2 separate regions of the Homo sapiens genome follow, and region 2 is linked to region 1. Evidence: promoter capture Hi-C in 16 types of primary human blood cells and fetal thymus (Javierre and others, 2016). All regions are on one chromosome and are shown on one strand. The core of a region is centred on a gene start or on the middle of the fragment in contact, and the rest is flanking DNA. Distances in the headings are between cores, read along the strand shown. Region 1 holds the start of ANKFY1 (ankyrin repeat and FYVE domain containing 1). Region 2 has its middle 31 kb from the start of SPNS3.

Region 1 (7,163 bases), core at 1,409-3,908:
CTAGTCCAAGTTCTTCGTCAAATAGGTAGAATCTGAGATGCAGCATAAGGCTTGCAAGGACTTGCCCATCATCAACACAGCAAGTAGCTGCAGAGCCAAACTTGAACTCAGGTCTCTTAATTCCCAGAATAGCACACAGTGGAAACACCTCATCAAACATTTTGAGTGCCTGCTATATTCCAGACCCTAGGCTGGTGCTGCTGAGGTAACGATAGTCATCATGCAAAATCGGGAGTCAGCTGTGACAGTACTTTACAACAACTTTCATGTTGCTTTTACGTTATGGCCCAGGCAATATTCGCAGGGTACTCCACCATAAAAAGATGAGGCTGCTTGCATCCAGAGGAGCCTGGCCTGCCTGGCCACTCTGAAGGCCCCAAAGACTCACCATTGGGCACCCCTATAAACCATTCTCAACAGACAGGGACGCTTTAAGCGATGGCCTTCCCATGGTAGGGAAAGTTCTCCCCTACCATCTTCGTGCCTTTCGTCTCCTGCCACAACAAAAAGGCTTACACGTTTCAACACCGTCTCTCATCTCCCAGGTACCTGGCAGCCAGAATTCCTACTCTTCCTCAAAAATTCAGTGCTTGACTCTATGTTCCCACGATCTAAGCTCCAAATTCCTCCTCCACTCCACCTCACTACCCACTAATGCTTATCCTTAACAGCACCTAAAGCTTCTCCAACTTTAAATCCTCCTTTTCGTTTCTGACACTCTTATTCTGTTCTCAGATTCTTCTTTTTAAATTTCTTTTCTTTTTCTTATTTAATTTTAGAGACAGAGTCTTGCTCTGTCACCCAGGCTGCAGTGCAGCGGCAGGATAGAGCTCACTGCAGTCCCAAACTCCTGGACTCAAGCAATTCTCCAGCCTCAGCCTCAGCCTCCCAAGTAGCGACAACTAAAAGCCTGCACCACCAGGTATAGCTAATTCAGATCCTTCCTTCCAACCTTTTGTCTCTTACTCCTGGCTGTCCTCCAAGGCCACCACTTTCCCTGCAATCCTGAACTATTGATGCATTCTTTTGATTCTCCCTTGAGTAAAAGTCTTTTTTGAAAGGTCTCATGCTGGGCCGGGCATGGTGGCTCATGCTTGTAATTTCAGTACTTTGCGAGGTTGGGGTGGGAGGACTGCTTGAGACTAGGAGTTCAAGACCAACCTGGCCAACAGAGACTCCATCTCTGAAAAAAAAAAAAAACAAAAAACAAGAAAGGTCTCATGCTATTCAGCTATGTTACTGTTTAGCCCTCCATTTTGCAATTGTCTTAACTAATCGTATAGTCCTCCCCACATTCACCAAAGATTTTAGCTCCTGATGCTCCTTTCCTTTCCTACCTCTAAATCCCAACATCTAATTTTCCTGCCTTCTCACTTCCACTTCAGCCACTCTATTCCGTGGCTCTGTCCTGGACTTTTTTTTTTTTTTTTTGAGACAGAGTCTCACTCTGTTGCCCAGGCTGGAGTGCAGTGGCACAATCTTGGCTCACTGCAACCTCTGCCTCCCGGGTTCAAGCGATTCTACTGCCCCAGCCTCCCGAGTAGCTGGGATTACAGGCATGCACCACCACGCCCGGCTAATTTCTGTATTTTTAGTAGAGACGGGGTTTCACCATGTTGGCCAGGCTGGTCTTGAGCTCTAGACTTCAGGTGATTCACCCTCCTCGGCCTCCCAAAGTGCTGGGATTACAGGCGTGAGCCACCACGCCCGGCCTGTCCTGGACTTTTCTCATCTCCTAGTGCTACTTCACTATGAACCTGTTTGCCACTTTAACCACCAAGCTCTCACAACATTGCCTGCACTGCACTGGCCTTCAATTATCAGAGACCTGCAGTTTCGTGGCTCCTCCATCAGTCCCTAGCCAGTCTGTATCCCACGTTTGATGGCCTGGGCTGTCGTCTCATAGCACCCTCAATTTATTTTGGGCAATGCAATCCCAAGCCCTGGATAAATGCTATAATTCAAAATATCTGCTACTGCAGCCTGGTGGCTGAGTTCTAGAAAAAAGTGATCCATCAACACATACATGAGGCACATGAAACCAGGCCTTCCAACTTCAGCGTCCTCTTCCAAAGTTTCTTTGCTCTTCTTGGTCTCCTTCCTTGTCTCATAACTTCACCCATAAAATCGATGTCATCAAACGATCTCCCTGATTTTCTTCCCCCCTATATATCTGCACGCATGTTCTTGTTTCCTACCGTTTTAGTGGAATAACAGGTGACCTGCCTCTAGTCTAAATTTAATCCGTTTTCCTGAGTTCTGCATCGCATGCAGAGCATCCTACCTCCCCAGGGACCTCTCCACTGACTCCTTTCTCCCAGCCTCTCCTTTCTTTACAAACCTAAGGACCAACAAACCCCCTCTCTCGACCCTCTCATTGCCAAGCTTCTCCAGAGTAGTCTGCATTCGTTGTGTCATCCTTTTCGGTGCCCTGCCAAGGACGTGGAATATGACAGGGCTCAGTCAGTGCTTAATAAATCTCGAGCCTCAAAAATACCCGGTAAAAAGAAACCCGGCTCTCCGCTTCCCCCAGAGTCCAGCAACCCCCTCCGCTTTCATTCACCCACTTTCCTACCCTCGGCTCCGCCTTTTGCCGCGCCTCCCGCGATTCTCGCGAGACTTGGTGATTCCGTTCCGCACCGCCCCGGTTGAGCCGCGCACTTCTCGCGAGGTTGCAGGCAGTGCCGGGCCAGACATGGCGGAAGGTAGGGTTTTTTTGTGGAGCCGCGCGGGAAGACACGGAGCTGTGGGGGCGCTGCTGGCCGTGCGAAGCTGCCGTGGGAGGGGAAGGCCGGGCGTGGTTGCATGGGGGCTCCGCGGGTCTCGCGAGCCTTCCTGTCTAGCCTCTCCGGAGCTTCTCGGGCCGGGGTCCGGAGCGCGGTTCCTATGACAACGTCCCTCCCGCGATGCCGACCCCGCGGGACTGCGGCCGGCTGCGGAGCCGGGCTGGCAGGTCCCGCGCCGGTGCTGCGTGCAGCCGCGGGGCCCCGAGGGCAGCACGGGAGGCTCTTGATTGCCGGCGGTGCCGGGACGCCGGGGGAAGTAAGCCTTCTCCTTAGGAAATCGAAACTGCTGTCCTGGCACGTTCTGCATCCGGAAGGGGTCCATCCCTCGCTTGCGGAAGAGCGTGGGTCTCCTCGGGCTGGGTTGGGGTGAGGTGGGGTGGGGTGGGGGCGAGGCAGCAGCGAGCTGGCCCACGCTTCAGGCGGGCGCACTGGCGGCTCCGGCTCTGCTGCAACCCCAGCCTTCAGGCCAGGCGTACAGATGAAGACGGGAGGAAGGGGTTTGCGGGAAGGGAGTTGGCCAAGGTCACACTGCTCACAAGAGGGCTGCTCAAACCAGACCTCTGTGCCTTTGCCTCCCCGTCCAGTGCCTACCCTCTGGTCTCGTGCACTTTTCATGACATTGCAGCTTAAGGCACTCTGGTCTCTCAGAGTCTGCCTGTCTTAATGTAGCAGTAATTAGAAGCCTTCATTGTCAAAGCCTTATTGTACACGTAGGGGGAAAGAAGGCCCAGAGACGGGGAGTTACCTGTCAGGAATCGTGCAGGGACATTGTTGGATCTGGGCAGCCTGGTTCTCCTCTTCACCCCATTATTGGAGAACAGTATTCCTTATTTGACCTTTGTTTATTGAGTGACTGCAGTGTGCTTGGCCACGACCTTTCCTGTTGGTTTTGAGCTTTGACTGAACCCATCACTTGATGGATCTTAGATTTGGGCAGCACCTGACAGTTGGTCGGCTTTTCTCATTTGCATTAGACTTCAGATAACCTCGTGAAGGAGGCCTGGCGTGTGTATTTGCCTTTATTGATAAAGGAATTTAGGCAAAGTTACAGAGATAGCTGTGACTGACACCCAGTTGGTTTTGGGGGGTGTGTGTGTGTGTTTTGAGATAGGGTCTCGCTCTGTCCCACCGGCTGGAGTACAGTGGCGCGGTCACGGCTCACTGTAGCTTCAGTCTCCTGGGCTCAAGCGATCCTTCTGCCTCAGCCTCCTGAGTAGCTGGGACCAGGGGCGCTCGCCACCACACCCGGCTAATTAAAAAGGGGTGTGTGTGTGTGTAGACAAGGTCTTGGCCCCGTGTGGTGGCTCGCGCTAGTAATTTCAGCACTTTGGGAGGCCGAGGTGGGAGGATCGCTTGAGGCCAGGAGTTCAAGAGCAGCCTGGGCAACATGGCGAAACCTCGTATCTACAAAAAATACGAAAGTTAGCCAGGTGTGGTGGCACGTGTCTGTAATTCCAGGTACTCGGGAGGATGAGGCACAAGAATCGCTTGAACCCGGAAAACGGAGGTTACAGTGAGCTGAGATCGTGCTACTGCACTCCAGCCTGGAGTGAATGGAGTGATGGCGGGTGCCTGTGGTCCTCGCAGTAATACTAGGGAGGTGGGAGGATCATTTGAATCCGGGAGGCGGAGGTTGCAGTGAACTGCACCAGCCTGGGCGACAGAGTAAGATCCTGTCTTAAAAAAGAGAGAGACTAGGTCACACTATGTCACCCAGGCTGGTCTCCCAACTCTTGGGCTCAAGCAATCCATCCGCTTTGGCCTCTCTAAGTGCTGGGGTTGCAGGTATGAGCCATCGCGCCCGGCAGGCACCCAGTTTTTGTCTTTACTTTTTCTACCATATCCCTGGAGGGGGAAACTTTAGGTGAATATTGCCTGAAGGCAGAGGAGTAAGAAAAGGAGCAAAAACCCAAGGGATTCCCTGAAGTTGCTTTTTGAGTAAATCACGGAATGTTGTACACAGCAGACAGCTGTTGCTCACAGGAGTGAGGCGGGTAGAAAGGTTCAGGAAGGTCTTCTGTGAGGTAAGGGGTAGTCTGGCGCTTTTGCACTTAGGAAGGTAAGTTCGGTGTTTTGGGAATACATTAGCAAGGTTGAGATTGTGGAGGGCTGCTGGTTTTTCATTCAGCAGCTTTACTGAGCACCTGCTGTGCTTTGCAGTCGGGTTCCAGCCCTGAGGAGCTCATACAGGCTGAGTCAGCATACTCATCATCCGGCAAGCGCCTTGAGAGACATCTCGCCAGTGGGGTGTCTCTCCATAAACACACGAAGAAGACATCCTTTCAGGGTTAAATTAGCAGGGGGATAGCTAGGTAAGCAGTCATGAAGTTCTGACTTCACAGTCTTTCTTTCCTTCCCTTCCCCTTTCCTTTTGAGGGAGTCTCGCTCTGTTGCCCAGGCGGGAGTGCAATAGCGCAATCTTGGCTCACCACAGCCTCCACCTCCTGGGTTCAAGCGATTCTTCCACCTCAGCATCCCAAGTAGCTGGGATTACAGGCACCCGCCATCATACCCGGCTAATTTTTGTAGAGATGGGGTTTCACTGTGTTGGCTAGGCTGGTCTTGAACTCCCAACCTCAGCTGATCTGCCGGCCTCGGCCTCCCAAAGTGCTGGGATTGCCGGTGTGAGCCACCACACCCGGCCGGCCACAGTTTTTCTTTTACCTCTTTTGTGTCCCAACTTTTTGTTGGGATTTAAGCTTTTTAGAAACGATGTTGCAGACTTCAACTAGGAGGCATTCTGGGTCATTTAGCTTATTAATCTGAAGGTGCTTGCTATGCAAAGGAAGGCAAGATTAGGTAGAAAATGTTTCTTGGGATATTAATACTACTGCTTGTGCTTTAATCAGATTCTCAGAGCCTGCTATGCTTGTTTGGAGACAGTTATTTAAATATAAATAAATAGCAGATATCTGTGTCATATAACTTGAATGATCTGTAAACACACTATGGGAACTTCCCTGATAATGGTTGGTTGGCCATGTGAGAATGTGGGAGATAGTGCCTAGGAATAGTAAATAGGATCGTGAGAGACTGAGGATACAGCTTCTTATGTGACTTGTTTAGAGAACAACCTTCTTTCCTTCCATCTATCCATGGCTATTCATTTGACCATATATATTTAGCTAAAGTCTGTCCTAAAATTAGTTTTATTCCCCAACTCTACATCTCTGTGGCTATCCTGCTTAATCTAAGCTTCATTTGTGGGTTTTTTTTTTTTTTTTTTTTTTTTGGAGACAGGATCTCACTCCGTCACCCAGGCTGGAGTACAATGGCGTGATCACAGCTCATTGCAATCTCCACCTCCCAGGCTCAAGTGATTCCCTCACTTCAGCCTCCCAAGTAGCTGGGAGTGCAGATGTGCATGCCACCACATTGGCTAATTTTTGTATTTTTTGTAGAGTTGGGGTTTTGTGATGTTGTCCAGGCTGGTCTTGAACTCCTGGGCTCAAGCCATTCACCTGCCTGGGCCTCCTGAAGTGCTGGGATTACAGGTGTGAGCCACCGCTCCCAGCCCTAAGCTTCGTTTGTAAGTGAACTACTTCAAAAGGTTCCAATTAAAAGTTTGCTTTTAACTTTTCCTCCTAGATTTTGCTCTCTCACAGCCTAATTTCACAGTTTCTAGTGTTCCCTTTAAGACATCAATCAGATCATGTCTCTCCTACTCTTCTTAATACTCCTGCCCCTCAATGCCCAACTCTCACACTTCTCCGTAATCTTAAAATATATTCCAGTTCTCTGTTAAGTATTAACAGGGTGTGGGCCCCACTTAACACTTCGAGCTTATTTCCTACTTTCATTCACTGTGCCCCTGCCACACTGACTTTTTTGCGTTCTTTGTGTGTGCCCGACATGCTGCTACCTCTGCGTCTTTGTCCCTGCAGTTTCCTTGGCCTGGAACAGTCCTCCGCTGTTTCTCCACACAACTGACCCACTTTATTCACTCAGTGTCTGTTCAGTTGTCATCTCATTAGAGAGCATCCCTCACTGGAATATAAACCCCATGAGGGCAGGAACTTGGTCTGTTTTGCTCACTCCTGTATCTCCCAGCTTAGAATCATGGCTGTGGTTGAAGGAATGTATGAATTTATTGAGCATCACCTGCTAGCCATCAAGAAAAGTTGCCTGGATACATCCTTAGCCTCTTGTCAAGCAAACTGGCTGGTCCACCTTTTATTATACTCTGCATAACCTAAGTCTGCTAGGAGCTACCTAACCTACTTTTCATCCAGCCCATTTTTGTTTTAGCAACTAAAATACAATGTTTAAGGCCGGGCACGGTGGCTCACGCCTGTAATCTCAGCACTTTGGGAGGCCAAGGTGGGCGGATCACTTGAGGTCAGGAGTTCCAGACCAGCCTGACCAACATGGTGGAAC
Region 2 (7,163 bases), core at 3,208-5,707, 140 kb before region 1:
GCTTCTCTCTGCCTCAGCTTTTCTGAATTCCTTCCCTAATTCTGTCCCCATAAGCATGAGAACTTCTTCCAGCCTGGGTCCCACTAGTGGTCCTAGACAAACCCAGAAACCAGCTCCTGGGATGTGGTCTGGGCCTGGTCAAGGTTAATGGGATACAAGCTAATTATTGGGTGAGTGGGAATCATGGTCAAGGAGGGAGCCAAAGCCAGGGGCAGGCTATCAGTAGGAGTCAGGCCAGGCGCTGGGCAGGGAGTACAGAAGGTGAAGCCAGTGGTTCAGGAAGGGACACGGGAGACCAATGGAAGGGTCCTCCACCCCGCTGCCTGCAGGCATGGTCACTGCACAGAGGCTGTGGGAGGCCATGGCGTGGTCTGGCCCAAGTAGATGGACATGCATCTACATAACCCCAGTGTCCACCGACAACCAGCTGACCCCATCACTCAAAAAGAATGGCATTGATTTTCTTGACCCCAAATGCCTCTGCTGGTGGGCAGAGCCCCAGGGAGACACTGAGTTCCCAGGAAGGGAACTGAAGCCAGTGTAGCTCCTGGGATTCCCAACTGCAACCCAACCTCTCCACCCACCTTGTCTCCTGGATTCCCTCCCCTCTCCTCCCCTCTCTTTTCTCTCCCCCAATCTCCCTGCACAGCTCACTACACCCATCGCTGGGCTGGTCAAAGTTCTCCCAGGGGATCTGTTTGCAGCTAGACATATGTGTACCTGTGAGTGATCATGCATGCCCGTGGTGCACACACATCCTCTTGTGTGCTGTATGTGCCTATACACACCCATGTGTGCCTGTACATGCGTGCAGACACCCATGTATGCGCAGATGGGCACGTACACAGTGTATATATGCACTGTGTGAGCCTGTGCGTGTAAGCTCCCCTGTCCCAACTCCCCAAGCCCAGATTAGCTGCCTCTACTGGGCTGACCTTGTCCTGACAGCCCCTTGGGACTGGGGGAGCTGCAGAGCCCTCCTTGCCCTCACCAAGAAACCAGGAGGCCCAGAGCATCCCCACCTTCCTGGAGAAGGTAAGAGGGAGGAACAGGCTGAGCAAAGGTGAGAGAGGAACATGTGGCTCCTCCGGGGAGTGAGTGAGGGCAGAAGAAGGATGTCTGGGGGAAAACATGTTTAAAGAGAAAAACAGTGAGTTAGGTTTAAGAGATGTTTTACATATATATATATAAATATATAAATGTTTATATATAAAAATATACAAATGTTTATATATAGAAATACACAAATGTTTATATATAGAAATATATAAATGTTTATATATAGAAATATATAAATGTTTATATATAGAAATATATAAATGTTTATATATAGAAATATATAAATGTTTATATATATAAACATTTATAAATAAATATAAACATTTATATATATAAATATATAAATATATAAAAATAAATATATAAATATATATAAATATATACATATATACATATATAAATATATACAAATATATATGAATATATATAAATATATACAAATATATATATAAATATATATAAATGTATATATAAATATATATATATATATGTATTTTTTTTTTTTGGAGACATTATTTAGCTCTTGTCGCCCAGGCTGGAGTGCAATGGCACAATCCCGGCTCACTGCAACCCCCACCTCCCAAGTTCAAGCAATTCTCCCGCCTCAGCCTCCCAAGTAGCTGGAACTACAGGCACGTGCCACCACGCCTGGCTAATTTTTGTATTTTTAGTAAAGACAGGATTTCACCGCATTGGCCAGGCTAGTCTCGAACTCCTGACCTCAGATAATCTGCCTGCCTCGGCCTCCTAAAGTGCTGGGATTACAGGCGTGAGCCACCGTACCCGGCCAAGAGATGTTATATTTGGAGGGCTCTTGGGACATCTATGTAGGGAGAAACCTGGAGCAAACTGAGATCTTGGAGCCTTGAAACCCAGGGCAGAGGGGAACTGACCCCAGACCCCAGCTTCAGGAGTGGACACAGAACCAGGGCCTCCCCAGCGTCTGAGACTTAGATTTAGTGTGGGTTTCCCCAAAGTAGACCCTGAAACAAGGACTTGGTTGTGGATAGTTTATTTGGGAGGTAATCCAAGGAAACACAAGTAAGGCAGTGGGGAAACTGAGGCAGGGAAGAAAAGCCGATGAAGCCTGGGCAATTGGTATTTAATCTTACTCTGACCCCTCTGAGGAGTTAAGACTTGAGGGGTTCGCCCCAGAAGAGGAGAAGCCGGTCCGACCAGTAAGAGAACTGCAGAAACAGCTGGGTGCAATGGCTCATGCCTGTAATCCCAGCACTTTGGGAGGCCGAGGCGGGCGGATCACGAGGTTAGGAGATCGAGACCATCCTGGCTAACACAGTGAAACTCCGTCACTACTAAAAAAGTACAAGCCAGGCGCGGTGGTTCATGCCTGTAATCCCAACACTTTGGGAGGCCGAGGCGGGTGCATCACAAGGTCAGGAGTTCGAGACCATCCTGGCCAACATGGTGAAACCCCGTCTCTATTAAAAGTATAAAAATTAGCTGGGCGTGGTGGCAGGTGCCTGTAGTCCCAGCTACTCAGGAAGCTGAGGCAGGAGAATCGCTTGAACCCAGGAGGCGGAGCTTGCAGTGAGCCGAGATCACCCCACTGTACTCCAGCCTGGGCGACAGAGCGAGACGCCGTCTCAAGAAAAATAAATAAATAAAAAATAAAGTACAAAAAATTAGCCGGGCGTGTTGGCGGCCGCCTGTAGTGCCAGCTACTCAGGAGGCTGAGGCGAGAAGGGTGTGAACCCACAAGGTGGAGCTTGCAGTGAACCGAGATCGCGCCACTGCACTCCAGCCTGGGCGACAGAGTGACACTCCGTCTCAAAAAACAAAACAAAAAAAACAAACAACCAAAAAAAAGAGGAGCTCTCCTGAGGACTTAACGCTCTTCACAGGGTCCACGAAAATCTGGAAAAGTACATGGGATCCTAAGAGCAGGAGGCAGGACAGGGAGATTAGGATTCTGGGGAGCTGTGTCCCTCTATCCCAACTGCCCTGACAGCCCCAATTTTGATGACCTGGTTGTGGCCAGAGGAGGAGGCCTCACCACTACCAGTGCTGCAGGAACTTGGGCCTCTGGGCACTAAGCCCGTGCTAATGAGCTGGTTCTTTTTTTTTTCTAATGGCACGATCTCGGCTCACTGCAACCTCCACCTCCCGGTTTCAAGTGATTCTCCTGCCTCAGCCTCCTGAGAAGCTGTGATTACAGGCGCCCACCACCACGCCCAGCTAATTTTTGTATTTTTAGTAGAGACGAAGTTTCACCATGTTGGTTAGGCTGGTCTCGAGCTCCTGACCTCTGGTGATCCACCCACCTCAGCCTCCCAAAGTGCTGGGATTCCAGGTGCGAGCCACCACGCCCAGCTCAGTGAATTTTTCTGTATATATATGCACCTGTGTGTACTAGTTTCCTGCGGTTGATATAACAAACTATCCCAAACTTGGTGTCTTAAAACAACATAAACATGGCCGGGCACAGTGGCTCACGCCTTTCATCCCAGCACTTTGGGAGGCCGAGGCCGGCGGATCACCTGAGGATGGGAGTTCGAAATCAGCCTAACCAACATGGAGAAACCCCGTCTCTACTAAAAATACAAAATTAGCCGGGCATGGTAGCTATGGAGGCTGAGGCAGGAGAATCGCTTGGTGAGCTGAGATCGCGCCATTGCACTCCAGCCTGGGCAACAAGAGTGAAACTTGGTCTCAAAAAAAGAAAAAAACAACCAAAACCATAAACGTATTCTCTCGAATGTTTTCTCTCCTGGGGGGCAGAAGTCTGAAGTTGGTATCGCAGGACTGAAATGGAGGTGTCAGCAGGGTCATGCTGTCTTCAAGGCTCTGGGAGAGTCCCTTCCTTGCCTCTTCTAGCTGCTGGCTGCTGGCAGTCCTTGGCTTGTGTCTACTTCGCTCCAATCTCTCTCCATCTTCACATTACCTTCTCTCCTTCTGTCTTCTCAAATCTCCCTCTGCCTCTCTCTTATGGGACACCTGTGATTGCATTTAGATTCATCCGGGTCATCCAGGATAAGCTCTCCATCTCAAGATCCTTAGCTATCACATCTGCAAAGACCCTTTTCCCAGATAGGGTAACATTGACAGACTCTAGAGCAGTACTCCCCAAGCTTTGTGGCACCAGTTCCTGTTTTGTGGAAGACATATTTTTCCATGGATGGGTGACGGGTGATGCGGGGGATGGTTTCAGGAAGATTAAAGCACATTACATTGATTGTGTACTTTAATTGTATTATTATGACATTGTAATATATAATGAAATCATTATACTTCACCATAATGTAGAATCAGTGGGAGCCCTAAGCTTGTTTTCCTGCATCTAGATGGTCCCATCTGGGGGTGATGGGAGACAGTGACAGATCATCAGGCATTAGGTTCTCATGAGGAGCGCGCAACCTAGATCCCTTGCGTGCCCGGTTCACAATAGGGTTTGTGCTACTATGAGAATCTAATGGCCCCAGTGATGTGACAGGAGACAGAGCTCAGGCAGAAATGTGATCGATGGGGAGCAGCTGTAAATACAGATGAAGCTTCGCTTGCTGGCCCACCACTCCACCTACTGCTGTGAGGCCTGGTTCCTAACAGGCCAGGGACTGTTAGTGGTCCGCGGCCCAGGGACTGGGGACCCCTGCTCTAGAGTTTAGGACCCAATATAGTTGGAGTCCATTATTCAGCCTACTATACAGTGTAACCGCCACCCAGATCAAGATACAAAAGAATCTTTTGCTGAGCGCGGTGGCTTACACCTGTAATCCCAGCACTGTGGGATACCAAGGCGGGTGGATCGCCTGAGGTCAGGAGTTCAAGACCAGCCTGGCCAACATGGTGAAACCCCTAAAAATACAAAAAAAAAATTAGCCAGGCTTGGTGGCGGAAGCCTGTAATCTCAGCTACTTGGGAGGCTGAGGCAGGAGGATCGCTTGAATTTGGGAGACAGAGGTTGTGCTGAGCCAAGATCATGCCATTGCACTCCAGCCTGGGCAACAGAGTGAAACTCTGTCTCAAAAAAAAAACAACAGATTCTCTTTATCCCAGAAAGTCTCCTAGACCACGGGTAACTGCTCTTCTGACTTGTAACACCGTAAATGAAATTTTCGTCTTTTTGAACTTCATGTAAAGGCATCATACTACGTCTGTATTAATCATACTGTGTATATGTATTTCTCTCAAGGATATCTGTGAGATTCATCCACATTGTTACCTGATTCAGATCTTTTTAAAAATTTTTTCTTTTTTTTTTTTTTTTGAGACGGAGTCTTGCTCTGTCACCCAGGCTAGAGTGCAGTGGCAAGATCTCCACTCGCTGCAACCTCTGCCTCCCGGGTTCAAGCAATTCTCCTGCCTCAGCCTCTCGAGTAGCTGGGATTACAGGTGCCCGCCACCATGCCCAGCTAATTTTTGTATTTCTAGTAGAGACAGGGTTTCACCATCTTGGCCAGGCACATCTCAAAACTCCTGACCTTGGCCGGGCGCAGTGGCTCACGCCTGTAATTCCAGCACTTTGGGAGGCCGAGGCGAGGTCAGGAGATCGAGACCATCCTATCCTGGCTAACACGGTGAAACTCCGTCTCTACTAAAAATACAAAAAATTAGCCGGGCGAGGTGGCAGGCGCCTGTAGTCCCAGCTACTCGGGAGGCTGAGGCAGGAGAATGGCGTGAACCCCAGAGGGTAGAGCCTGCAGTGAGCTGAGATCGCGCCACTGCACTCCAGCCTGGGCGACAGCAAGACTCCGTCTCAAAAAACAAACAAACAAACAAAACAAAAAAAACCCTCCTGACCTTGTGATCCACCTGCCTTGGCCTCCCAAAGTACTGGGATTACAGACATGAGCCACCTCGCCCAGCCTCTTTTTTTTTTTTTTTTTTTGAGACAGAGTCTCAGTCTGTCGCCCAGCCTGGAGTGCAGTGGTGCAATGTCGGCTCACTACAACCTCCGCCTCCCAGGTTCCAGCAATTCTCCTGCCTCAGCCTCCTGAGTAGCTGAGATTATAAGTGTGTGCTCCATGCCTGGCTAATTTTTGTATTTTTATAAAGATGGGGTTTCACCATGTTGGCCAGGCTGGTCTCGAACTCCTGACCTCAGGTGATTCACCTGCCTTGGCCTCCCAAAGTGCTGAGATTACAGGTGTGAGCCACCACACCCAGCTCTAGATAGCCTTTTAGATACAAATACTGCCTTAGTCCGTTTGTGCTACTACAGTGGAATGCCTGAGACTGGATAATTTATAAGAAACAGAAATTTATTTCTCATAGTTCTGGAGGCTGGGAAGTCCAAGATTAAGGTGGTGGCATCTGGTGTGGGCCTTCTTGCTGTGTCTTCACATGGCAGAAAGCAGAAGTCAAGCAGGGACAAATGCTGTGTTCTCACATGTCAGAAGAGTGAAAGGACAGAACCCACTTCTGTGAGCCCTTTTAATGGCAGCATTTATGTATTCATGAGGGCAGAGCTCTCATGACCTAAACACCTCCCACTAGGCCCTACCTCCCAACACTGTTGCATTGAGGATTAAGTTTCCAATTCACCAGGTGTGGTGGCTCATGCCTGTAATCCCAACACTTTGGGAGGCCGAGGTGGGCAGATCACATGAGGTCAGGAGTTCAAGACCAGCCTAGCCAACATGGTGAAACCCTGTCTGTACTAAAAATACAAAAATTAGCCAGGCATGGTGGCAGGCACCTATAATCCCAGCTACTTGGGAGGCTGAGACAGGAGAATCTCTTGAACCCGGGAGGCAGAGGTTGCAGTGAGCCAAGATCACACCATTGCACTCTAGCCTGGATGACAAGAGTAAAACTCCATCTCAAAAACAAAAACAAAAAAGTTTCCAATTCATGAATTTTGGGGAACACACTCAGACCATAGCAAATATACTACAATTTATTTATCAATTATCCTATTTCCAGTTTAGAGCTATTAAACAAAACTGCTGCAAACAGGCTGGGCACAGTGGCTCACGCCTGTAGTCCCAGCACTTTGGGAGGCCGAATTGGGTGGATCACTTGTGGTCAGGAGTTCGAGACAGGCCTGACCAACATGGTGAAACCCTGTCTCTACTAAAAATAAAAAAAAAATTAGCCGAGCATGGTGATGCACGTCTGTAATCCCAGCTACTCGGGAGGGCTGA

What was found. Contacts are between HindIII fragments. The CHiCAGO score rates a contact against its expected background, and 5 or more counts as called.
Region 2: a contact is called between a fragment that was not itself captured here and the fragment with the promoter of ANKFY1 in region 1, in 1 of 17 cell types (naive B cells). The highest score is 5.8, in naive B cells.

The regions. Positions count from the first base shown.
Region 1 is chr17:4,259,474-4,266,636 of GRCh38, reverse strand. It overlaps ANKFY1 (ankyrin repeat and FYVE domain containing 1), which reads left to right and starts at 2,658. Exons shown (of 25, transcript NM_001330063.2): 1 at 2,658-2,705. The coding sequence starts at 2,696. RefSeq lists an enhancer at 2,472-2,561 and a silencer at 3,212-3,361. The HindIII fragment of the contact is 3,100 bases long and covers 2,388-5,487 here.
Region 2 is chr17:4,399,046-4,406,208 of GRCh38, reverse strand. No RefSeq gene overlaps it. Among named protein-coding and RNA genes, the nearest start is that of SPNS3, 31 kb to the left of the region's middle. The HindIII fragment of the contact is 226 bases long and covers 4,345-4,570 here.